2 separate regions of the Homo sapiens genome follow, and region 2 is linked to region 1. Evidence: promoter capture Hi-C in human tissues and cell types (Jung and others, 2019). All regions are on one chromosome and are shown on one strand. The core of a region is centred on a gene start or on the middle of the fragment in contact, and the rest is flanking DNA. Distances in the headings are between cores, read along the strand shown. Region 1 holds the start of WEE2 (WEE2 oocyte meiosis inhibiting kinase). Region 2 overlaps DENND11 (DENN domain containing 11).

Region 1 (5,882 bases), core at 1,698-4,197:
CATGTTCTTCCTTGGAGCGACAAACTCTCAAATAGCTCATTTTCCATGGCCTTAGCTTTACTTTGACAAAGGAACAGTCTAACCAGGAAGGTGAATAAAAGTTTCCACGTCTTGCAAATTTGAATAGATAGATTTTCCTGCTTCTGTTCTTCCCATCAACATTTCATAGGCCTCAGAACCAAGTCTGGTCAGAGTGGAGTCTAGGTGCTTCCTTATCACTCAGCAGTGTGTCTGCAAGGGGAGAACTTCCCTCAAGCACACAGTTGAGGGAACTCAGCCCTGAGATGCAAGGCTGCCCGCTTCTTGCACATCTTACTCCTGGGAACTTCGCTTTCCCCCTGTGCAGCAACTCCTGACACATTAAGAAAAAAATTCAAATTTTTTTTAAAAAGTCAAATATGGAGTATTTTAAACATGATTGAAATATATTAATTTATTTCCCCAAATTCATCCAAAAACAATTTATTGAACACCTACTATATGTTAGGCATTAAGGGGGAAACCCTCCCCTTTTCCTCTTATTGCCACAGATTACATGGGTCCCCCTTTTGACACATCATCTCAACTATCACCTGAAGCTTTATGCTGGGATGGATGCCTGTGGGATTAACATATACTGAAGCAGAGATGAAATTTTTCATAATGGAAAGAGGCTAAAAATGAAGAAAAGGCTACAATGTGACCAAAAAAATAGTGAGGCCATGGGCCAGAGGCCATAGGTAGCACCTCTAGGGATTCCCTTGGGTCATCCAGATCAGCAACTATGCAATTCTTATTATTTAGTTGTCCAAATTTGGGATATCTTTTTTGTACTCATTGTTACACCTTTCTTATTCTGAAGACTTAGCCACAATCATTATCTTCTGAGTAACAATACATGAAAAGGTGAATGGTGCAAGTTTCTAACAGTATTACTGCCGATAACATAAGACCTCAACCATTGCAATGGCATAGCTGCCTCCCTAGGCAAACAATGTAGTCATAAATAAGGGTAATCAAGAATTATAGCAAGGGAGAGAGAAAAAGCAGCAGGTGATAGAAAAAAAAAAAGAAAACCTGGTCTACTTGGGTAATACCTAATAAACCAGCCCCTGTGCCCTGTCTACAGGACAATAATATAGCCAGTGTTTTGAGTCAGTCCTGTTTTACTGAGAGCAAAGCCAGCCTCTAGCTGCCTGGAGAGGCAGGAATGACAAGCCATGGCATGTGAGGGGAAATTCATCAACACCAAGGCTATAGAAAAGAAATCTATCATCTGGCTTGCTGATTTGTAAACAAGACACTCCTAGGCTGAGAATCCCAGTTGATAATAATTGCATTACTGGTAACCTATGAGTTCTCCTTTTTCTTTGATGATTCTGTTTTTACTGGCCCCTGTAGGATACTGAATCTCTGACAAAGGTGGGCAGTGAGTTACTGCATTTTGTGAGCAATATTTTACCCCCTGTTGAATTATCTGGGATAGTTTGTGTGGGTGGGAGGCTGTAGGGAAGGGCCAAGGAAGGATGAATTGGTGTGCCCACCTACAAAGGGCTGGAGCATGAGAAGGCTTTGAGCTGAAAAAACACTTTGAAGTCTCCCCAGTTAGTTTTCATTTGGATTACCCTCCTCAGGAGTTCTGGCTGGGAATGGGGAAGGAATTAGGAGAAAGTGGTGGAGAGATCTGTGAAAAGAGGGAAATGGAAGAGGGGTGACAGGTAGCAAAGACTATAAAGAGAAGGGAAATAACATTTGTTTCAAACTCATCAAGCTGGCCTTGGTTCCTGTCTCTCTTTGGGCCCATGTTTATCATGTAAATAATTCCCTATTTGCAGTCCCTCTGAAGCCTCCTTGAGGGGCATGAGTGTATCATTTTCCTTTTTCATGGACTGCCTCTCACATAGTTTTCTTCTATAATGTGATATCAGTGAGGCCTTTTTCCTTTGATATACCTATACATTGTGTAATGATTACCAAAAATTTACCACACCCATATGCACCCATGCTGTACATCAGGTCCCCAGAATTGTTCATCTTATACCTGAAAGTGTGTACCCTTTGATCAGCATCTCCCCATTTCCCCTGCCTTTCCAGATCCTGGTAACCACCATTCTACTCCCTCCCTCTAGGAGATCAACTGTTTTTGATTCCACATATAAGTAAGATCATGTAGTATCTGTCTTTCTGTGCCTGGCTTATTTCACTTAATATCCCCCTGGTTCATCCATGTTATCACAAATGGCAGCCTTTCCTTTTTTATGACTGAGTAATATTCTATTGTGTGTGTGTGTGTGTGTGTGTGTGTGTGTGTGTGTGTATTCACCACATTTTCTTTATTCATCTGTCCATGGCTATTTAGGTGGTTTCCATATCTTGGCTGTTGAGGATAATGCTGCAATGAATATGGGTGTGTTGGTATTTTTTTGAGATAGTGATTTTATTTCCTTTGGCTATATAACTGGAAGAGAAGAGGGACAGCTTGATTGTATAATAGTTGTTTTTTTCTTCAAAGAGTTTTCCATCCTTCTCATAGGGGCTTCTCTGAGAAAGAAATTAAATAATGTGTACTAAAGATATTAAAAAGCATTTTACAATATAAGGCATTTTTGGCAGAAGCCATTGCTGTTTTCCAGTGATCAATATCTGTTTCTATGGTTTGTTGATCTTTCTAGCCTTTCTTTTGTCAGTTTAAATTTTTGTTCAATTCCCTAGAAGCTTTAACTGCTAACAGCTAACAGCTGCAGGAGGGAGATGCCTGAATTAGGGCAGGTGTGTTTGGCACAGAGCTAAGCTGTGTCTCTGTCAGGGATACAAACTCCAGTCAAGATATGTTAGAGGCTGTTTAAGGATCATTATGATAGCCAGGTGATGCTAAATTGTAATTACCTGCTGTTAGCTATTGGGTGGGTGGGGAGGAGAAGGGAGGAGAGGGTGATATTTATAAATGGCAGGTGTAAGGAGTGAAAATAATTTCTTTTCAATATTAGCTTATTCCCAAATTGGCTAATGGGTATTTTTAAAGCCATGCTAAATTAAAGGAATTCAATTTTCTCACTAGTATTTGGTAACACATGGGAGACTATGTGTCATATCCAGAAGAGTTCTGTACATGAACTGCATTTAATTGCTCCGAGAGTCACTGGAGCTTTCTTTAATCAGAATGGAAATCAGGATAAGCTGAGGTCTTATAGATTGGTGGTACTTAAGGCAGAAAATTAACACCGTGTTTTGTAGCTGTTAGTTGGTAGAGGGAAATTCAGGCTACCGTCGCGAAACCTGCAGGTTAAGTTATTTTCTCCTCCCTGCTTCTGTAGGTTCACAGCGTTCCCTTCTGATAGAGCTTTTTGTCTGTGTTGTAAAGCTCTTTGGCTGAGATGGATGACAAAGATATTGACAAAGAACTAAGGCAGAAATTAAACTTTTCCTATTGTGAGGAGACTGAGATTGAAGGGCAGAAGAAAGTAGAAGAAAGCAGGGAGGCTTCGAGCCAAACCCCAGAGAAGGGTGAAGTGCAGGATTCAGAGGCAAAGGGTACACCACCTTGGACTCCCCTTAGCAACGTGCATGAGCTCGACACATCTTCGGAAAAAGACAAAGAAAGTCCAGATCAGATTTTGAGGACTCCAGTGTCACACCCTCTCAAATGTCCTGAGACACCAGCCCAACCAGACAGCAGGAGCAAGCTGCTGCCCAGTGACAGCCCCTCTACTCCCAAAGTAAGTAAGGGGTGGGGGAAAAAGGGACGCAGGTCGCCAAGCTCTGCTTTCCTGTAGTTTAGCTGATAGAGTGGATTCATGTGTGTATGACAGTCACCTCCAGGCTGTGTATATCCTCAATTACACATTTATTGATGAAAATGAAGAAATTAAAATTACCAGAAAATGGACAGAATTAAATGGTTTGCCAGTTGTCTTCTCAAAACCACTGGTGCCAGTAACTGTTGGCTATTGGCCACAAACAAATCTTGGGTAGAAAAAAGTCCCTAGTTAAAGAATATTGGAACTGGAAGGAATATTGAGATTTAGAGCTCCAGCTGTGCAGTTTACATATGAGAAAATGAAGGGCCCAAGACAGAAACTGTCTCACAGCTCAGCCAATGTTACAGACAGGACTAGAAACCTGATCTTTTTGGCCTAGTCTATTGTTCTTTCCATTACGCCAACTGGCTCTATTTTTGTGTGATTATTTACTAATACTTTCTAATATAAGAACGTCCACACTCACTGTTTGAACATAGTCATATCTCTTTGCTGCTGCTCCTCCCAGAAACAACTCCTCTCCCCTCCTTGGTCTAATAGAAGAACCTCCAGGTTCTTCTAGTATATGTCAGCAAAGAGGAAACTTGTTGATACTTCTTCATAAGCTGAGGATGGCAAATAAGCAAGAGTCCCTAGTAGCATATTCCTTTATTCTTGTTGTGATTGGTGTCCTGTTGCATCGTTCATGTTATTAAAGCCATAGTTGGGGCAGGGTTGCCTCTAATCAACTCTGGTGCCATGGTGTGTGAGTCCTAGGATTGGTATTAGCTCGGCTTCCTGCTGGTTCAGCCTGAGGCACTTAAGATCATCATAATAACATCTGTGATCCTGACTGCGACACAGTTGCTATCAGCAGGTCTCTTTAGTACCTGCTGGGTGTGGGTACCATGTATACCAGGAAATTCTAAGCTGCTTGTTTGAATTGTAGAAAAACTAATATGCTCCGATGTCTATCTCTGGGTTTTTCAGTGGTCACAGCACCAGCCAATTAATCACCCATTTATTCTTTGAGAATTCCCTATAGGTAAGGAGCATATAATACAGTCTCTGCCCTCAAAGAGCTTACAGTCTAGCAGAGAGAGAGTAGTTATGCCAAAAGGCACTATGTGATAAGTGTGGTCAGAACCCGCTGGACAGATTCTCAGTGTGGTGATCAGGAAAGAAAGAAAGGTATAGGAAGGGCAATGAAAGTTGGTCCAGTTTTGATATATGGGGGAGAATGGGCTGAGAGAATGTGGCTTTGAGTAAGAGTACACAGAGAAGAAAACATGACATTCATTTGATCATTCACAGCTTAACTGAACACCTTGATGTGTTAGCAGACCCTCTGCTGGCAAAACCCATTCACTGCCTTCAAAAAGAGCCCACAAAATGAATAAAGATTAAACAAATGAAACAATAAAGTTCAAAACGTGTACTAGAGGAATGGTTGAGCATGATGAGAAGGAATTAGGAATTACATCTCTATCAGGGAAGACTTTCCAAAGAAAGTAATGTTTGAGAGATGTCTTAAAGGATATTTGGAGTTAGCCAGGCAAAGAGGGGAATAGGAATTCTAGGCAAAGGGAAAAGCATCCACCAAGTTATGGAGGGGAAGGAGCTGCTACACTTGGAAAACAGCATGTTATTCAGTGTGACGGGCCTGTGTGTGAGAGAGTGCAAGAGATGAGGCCAGTGTAGGTGGGCAGAAGCTAGATCAAGATTTTAATCCTGAGAGTGTTGAGAGAGCCATTACCATGGTTTTGAGTAGAGGGATTTTTTTGGAAAAATCATGACCTTTGTATGTATTGTGGGATGGAGCATGAGAGAGCCTGGAGGTAGAGCAGTATTCAGAATAGCCCTGTTGAACAAAGAAGAGCCTGGACTAGGACAGTGAAAAATTCAGAGATGACTTGATGGAGAGGTCGAGGGAAAACGAAAACAATCTGATGACTGAGGTTTCTTGCTTGGTTCAGTAGACAGAATCAAGATAGATGACACTAAGGGATATATGGGTTTGGAGAAAAGCAGAGATGTGGTATAAAAAGTTGGATAACTGGGTATGGGGCACAAGAAAACAATGAAAATTGGAAATCCGTATTTGGATATCTACAGCATTTAGGAAGTAGTTGAGGCCATGGGTGGAGATAAGGTCACATAGCCTGA
Region 2 (5,452 bases), core at 2,178-4,677, 40 kb before region 1:
AGGTGCTTCTAAGCCGCACACACAGGTACATCTAAAGGTCACGTGGAGAGCAGCTGGCAGCTAAGGTAATTTCCACAGATTCCAAAGTCCATGAGAAGAAATAAACCAGCACCGTGGATCTACTCCCCTCCTATCAGGGCAGCATACAGGGAGCCTGGCCTCTTCTACTGCGGGGCTTCCCTTCATTTCCATCTCCATCCCAGGCAGCATGGAGACTGGGAGAAATGTGTCAGGGAAGGGGCAGAAGACAGGCTTTGCAGAGACCCCCATGCTGGAGCTGCCCTGAGGAGGGTGGAGCCCCTGGTTCTCCCCTTAGCTGCCACTACCTCTGCTCGTTGAGCCGGCGGTACTTCTCCCTGTCAGCACTGTTGATCTTCAGCAGCGGCTGCAGGTGGTCGTGGTGTGTCTTCACATTCTGGTTATCCACGTAGACGTCATACAGCTCCCGCTTCTCCTCGAATATCTTCTCTGTGGTGCCTGTGGAACCCGGGGTTAGAGAGGTGGGAACCCACCCGACCCCACTGGGAAACAAGGCGCCCAGGAGCCCTGTGTCTGGGAGGAGCAGGGCTGGGACCTGAGGGCAAGATGAGGGGAGGGCCCCGTACTCACAGGCCACATAGGACACCTCTACCTCCAGGCTCTCGATGTCAGCCACGTTCACGTAGAAGAAAGGTTTGGACTCAGGAATGGTGCCCCCGATGCCAGGCAGTGAAACGTTGGCCAAGCAGCAGCAGCAGTACACTGTGGGGATAGAGGAGGTGAGCGGGGAGGGTCTGCCCCTCCACAGCCCTTCCTCCCTCGGAGCCTGCGGCTCAACACCTCTGCTCCAGGCTATCTGGTGCTTCAGGATCCAGGTGGTCCTGGCGTTCTGAGGAGACTGGAGGTGGCAAGCCTTTTGGGGTGCCATGGCAGAAACTGACCCCTCAAGGTGACGTCAACAACGTGCTTCCCAAACCCAATAAACATTTCTCAGTCTTTCTCTAGCTGGTCTTGCTTAGAATTTGACCTTGTCAGAACTCCGGCCTCTGTAACCCTTGTGTCTTCCGGTTCCCCCTTCTGCCTGTCCCTCCCTAGTCCTTTCTGTCCTTCCACCTTTCTGGTCCACTTCCTGTGCCTGGAACACCCCTCCACACTTGTACTTTCCCCAGGTAACGCTGTCCATCCTGGATATGAGTGCAGAAATAATCTACCACCCTCAAATCTTTATCTCCAGCTCAAACGCCCACAGGTCCCGACCCAGCTAGGCAGGGTGGGCAGACACCCCTGCTGTGAAGGTCTCAAGGCAGCACACCCTCATCACATCCCACACTAACCTTATCAAGCCAGCCCCCGGCTCCTCCTCCGTCCCCCATCTGGTGGCCCCACCACCCTTGTTATCCTAGACTCTGCTTCCACTGCAACCTCACACACATCAGAACCTTTACAACCCAATCAGACAACAAGTTTTGTCCAGTTTCTCTTAAATCCATCTAGAATGCATCTTCTCTGCTTTAATCCAGCCCTAATCTTTGGCCAGGCCACTGATGTGTCATCCAACCCATCTTCTACATTGTCAACAGTGTTCACAGCCAATCAGTTCACTCCCGGGCTTAAAACCCCATCCCCTGGATGTGGCCCAAGCTCTTCCAAACTTGGTCAGTGACAGAAAGACTCAAGCAGTTTCTGCTCCAGGGATTTAAGCAGCACTCCTGACTCTGGCTTCTGGTTACCTCTATAGCACACCACGCCCACAGGTGGGGGAGAAAATATCAAAATGCGCTTTCGAAGTAAGGCAAATTTCCAGAGGATGAGGATCTGTTCTCCAAAGAACTTTATAAACTGAGACATGCAGCCAGCTGGGTGTGTGATCTGAAAAAATTGAGGGGAATAGGGAGGAGAAAGAGTGAGGAACAGCTTCTTAGAAATATAGCAAAAGGTATCTAATCTCCTTCTCTGAAATTCTAAAGTCCATCCAAACAGATACATTAAAGGATGCTTATTTCCACACACAATGATGTTTTTCACTTTAAAAGTCTTACCTTTAAACTGGATTTCTATAATACAACAGCTCCCTGATACACTGATGTTTGAGTTGAGTGATCATTATTTTACTCAGGAGAACAATGCAAAGGAAACAAAGCTAAATTTAAATTTAAAAAAACCAGAATAAAAGCATCTGCTTCAATAAGAAAACTCAACTCGAAAACATTACTAAGCACTGTTAAGTAATAACATGATGAGCAAACAGTCCCCAGTCAGATCCCAAATCTATGGGGGCTGCTACTGTGCAAAGTGAGGTGTCTGCAGAAGTCACAGGTAGGAAGGAGCCCCTGGCATAACCCCTGCTGCACTTCACCTCTGACCACTCTTCCTTCTTTTTTTGAGATGGAGTCTGACTCACTCTGTCACCCAGGTTGGAGTGCTGTGGCGTGATCTTGGCTCACTGCAACCTCTACCTCCTGGGTTTGATTTTCCTACCTCAGCCTCCCAAGTAGCTGGAATTACAGGCATGCACCACCATGCCCGGCTAATTTTTGTATTTTTAGTACAGACAGGGTTTCACCATGTTGGCCAGGCTGGCTTTGAACTCCTGACCTCAACTGATTCGCCCACCTTGGCCTCCCAAAGTGCTGGGATTACAGGCGTGAGCCACCACGACTGGCCCCACTCTTCCTTCTGTCACTAACTGGCAACCCCTGAATTGCCTTCTAGGAACACTGAGCCAAGGAGTATCATAGGGGTTAAGAGCATAAGCTCTGATCCCAGGAAGAGCTGAATTCCAATCCTGGCCCTGCCATTTACTAACAGGGAGATCTGGGGAAAGTTAGCTAATGTTTCCGGTTCACTATCCTTAACTGTGAAATACGGAATCATCACCTACCTCGTAGGGTTACTTTAAGGACCGCCTGAGACAAAACATGAAATAGCACATAAAAATAGCCAATATGGGGTGGCCACTACTGTTGCTTTGAAAAACAGAAAGGCTTCAAACCCTGGGCCTTGTGAGCTTTGTGAAAGGTCATTTCCATGCCAAAGTGCCAGAAGAAAGAGCTCATCACCCATCAGGGAGGCAGGCAAGAGCACTTCTGAGAGAGGCACCGACTCTCGGGCTGCGTGCTAGGGTTTAACAACCACCAGCCTTCAGAGGCACCTATACCCGAGCCTCAGGGCAGCCTCTGCACTCTGCCTGTCCAAGCCAGGGCTGTCCTGGACCCTCCGAAGCTGTGTCTGCACTACCCGGAGAGGATTTCCCTTTCCAAGGCATCACTCCTGCACTGATACCATTCCCCTACCCCATGCCAGGATAAAGGCGACCCTGAACTGAACATGTCCTGTTTGCCACCCACGCCTACTCCTCTGCCACCGCAACCCAAATCATGAGGAGGAGAGGCACCAAGTGACCAAGGCTGGTTGCATCCCTCCAATCGCTATTTCTCTTCAAAGTCTAACAGCAACCAGATAGGAAAGGGTGCCAAAGCACGTGCCGGTTCCTCCCAGCTTTCCCACTGGTTATCTTCAAGCTCCCAACTTGTTCTTCCACCACACAGAGGCCAGGTGGGGCTTGCCCAATGTATATTTTATAGGCTAGTGGGAGAAAGCGATTAAAATATAGCCTGACAGAGCCATGATGGGAGAAGAATGGGGCATGGTGGAGCAAACTGGAGGGTGCCTGATCCCACTCTAGGAGAGACAGAAAAGACTTCCTGGGGGAAGTGATGTTGAAGCTTCGACATAAAGATGAATCTGAGGCCGGGTGCTGTGACTCATGCCTGTAATCCCAGCACTTTGGGAGGCCGAGGTGGGTGGATCACAAGGTCAGGAGTTCAAGACCAGCCTGGTCAACATGGTGAAACCCCATCTCTACTAAAAATACAAAAAATTAGCTGGGTGTGGTGTCGCGTGCCTGTAATCCCAGCTACTTGGGAGGCTGAGGCAGAAGAATTGCTTGAATCTGGGAGGCAGAGGTTGCAGTCAGTTGAGATCACACCACTGCCCTCCAGCCTGGGCAACAATGCGAGACTGTCTCAAAACAAACAAACAAACAACAAACAAAAACAGATGAATCTGAGGGAAGGTGTTCACATACAAAGGCCTGCAGGTAAGAGGCAACATGGCCCTTCTTGGGACCTGCAAGTAGTTCAGGCCCTGTGCCCAGGCCCATGCCAGGGAAGCACTGCCCACAGGGCCACCTCCTTTCTTCTAAAAGGGTCAGCTCTAGAGACTTCTCACCCCTTCTCACCTGCACATGCAACAGAAATTCCTCCTGCTTTCATTGAAATCTCTTTCCCTTTTTCCAGCCTTGTTTCTCTGGCTTTTACAGAGAAATCTCTTTTCTTGATGTCTCCAGTGCGTACCTTCATGTTTTCCCTCCAACCTTTCAAGTCCATACTCCATCCTCTTTTCACTCCAATTTCTTTTTACTCCCTAACCACTGTCAGTTCAGTGTCCATAGCAGGCTCTGATAGACCCATGCCTGCCACTAGGGAAGCCCTCCACTCCCGGGGCCCAGCCCCCCTCCCCTGTATCCCTCTCCCACTCCCCCATTTTCCTAAGGGGAGCATTTAGCAGCCACATCTGGACCTCTCAGAGAGGTCTTCCTCTTCCCTCTGCTTCCTTTCCAGTTTATTTTTTTCCCTCTGAAACATTCCTATATCTGACTCCTACATTAAAAGCTTACTTCTTTAAAGTTTTTTTTTTTTTTTTTTTGAGAGGGAGTCTTGCCCTGTGTGGCCCAGGCTGGAGTGCAGTGGCGCTATCTCAGCTCACTGCAACCTCCGCCTCCTGGGTTCATGCAATTATCCTGCCTCAGCCTCCCAAGTAGCTGGGATTACAGGCGCATGCTACCATGCCTGGCTAATTTTTCCATTTTTAGTAGAGATGGGGTTTCACCATGTTGGCTAGGCTGGTTTTGAATTCCTGATCTCATGATCCACCTGCCTTGGCCTCCCAAAGTGCTGGGATTACAGGCATGAGCCGCCGTGCTCAGACTAAAGCTTTTCTTTATACGTGTGTTCATGTTGTAAAAATTCATTGAATTATATACGTATGATTTTTGAACTTATTTCTATAAAGTTTTATATTTCAATAAAAAGCTTAAAGATATATATATATTATTTTCCATACATGACAAGTATTGTATCATATATACTATTTTTGAACTTATTCCTATAAAATGTTATATTTCAATAAAAACTGACAGATATATTACATTATTTTCCATCCATGACAAGTATTATTATATCATACATGCTATTTTTTTTTTTTTTTTTTTTGAGACGGAGTCTCGCTGTCGCCCAGGCTGGAGTGCAGTGGCGCAATCTCGGCTCACTGCAGGCTCCGCCCCCTGGGGTTCACGCCATTCTCCTGCCTCAGCCTCCCGAGTAGCTGGGACTACAGGCGCCCGCCACCTCGCCCGGCTAATTTTTTGTATTTTTAGTAGAGACGGGGTTTCACCGTGTTAGCCAGGATGGTC

Evidence for each region. The method cuts DNA at HindIII sites, captures the fragments that hold promoters and counts their contacts. A contact is called where the count stands out against the background at its distance.
Region 2: a contact is called between a fragment that was not itself captured here and the fragment with the promoter of WEE2 in region 1, in 3 of the 25 tissues and cell types used here (bladder, pancreas and spleen).

The regions. Positions count from the first base shown.
Region 1 is chr7:141,705,406-141,711,287 of GRCh38, forward strand. It overlaps WEE2 (WEE2 oocyte meiosis inhibiting kinase), which reads left to right and starts at 2,948. Exons shown (of 12, transcript NM_001105558.1): 1 at 2,948-3,695. The coding sequence starts at 3,354. WEE2-AS1 (WEE2 antisense RNA 1) reads right to left here. Exons shown (of 4, transcript NR_199841.1): 4 at 1-352. The HindIII fragment of the contact is 8,083 bases long and covers 1,637-5,882 here.
Region 2 is chr7:141,664,578-141,670,029 of GRCh38, forward strand. It overlaps DENND11 (DENN domain containing 11), which reads right to left. Exons shown (of 9, transcript NM_001080392.2): 5 at 1,710-1,848; 6 at 610-741; 7 at 327-477. Among named protein-coding and RNA genes, the nearest start is that of DENND11, 35 kb to the right of the region's middle. The HindIII fragment of the contact is 3,190 bases long and covers 1,833-5,022 here.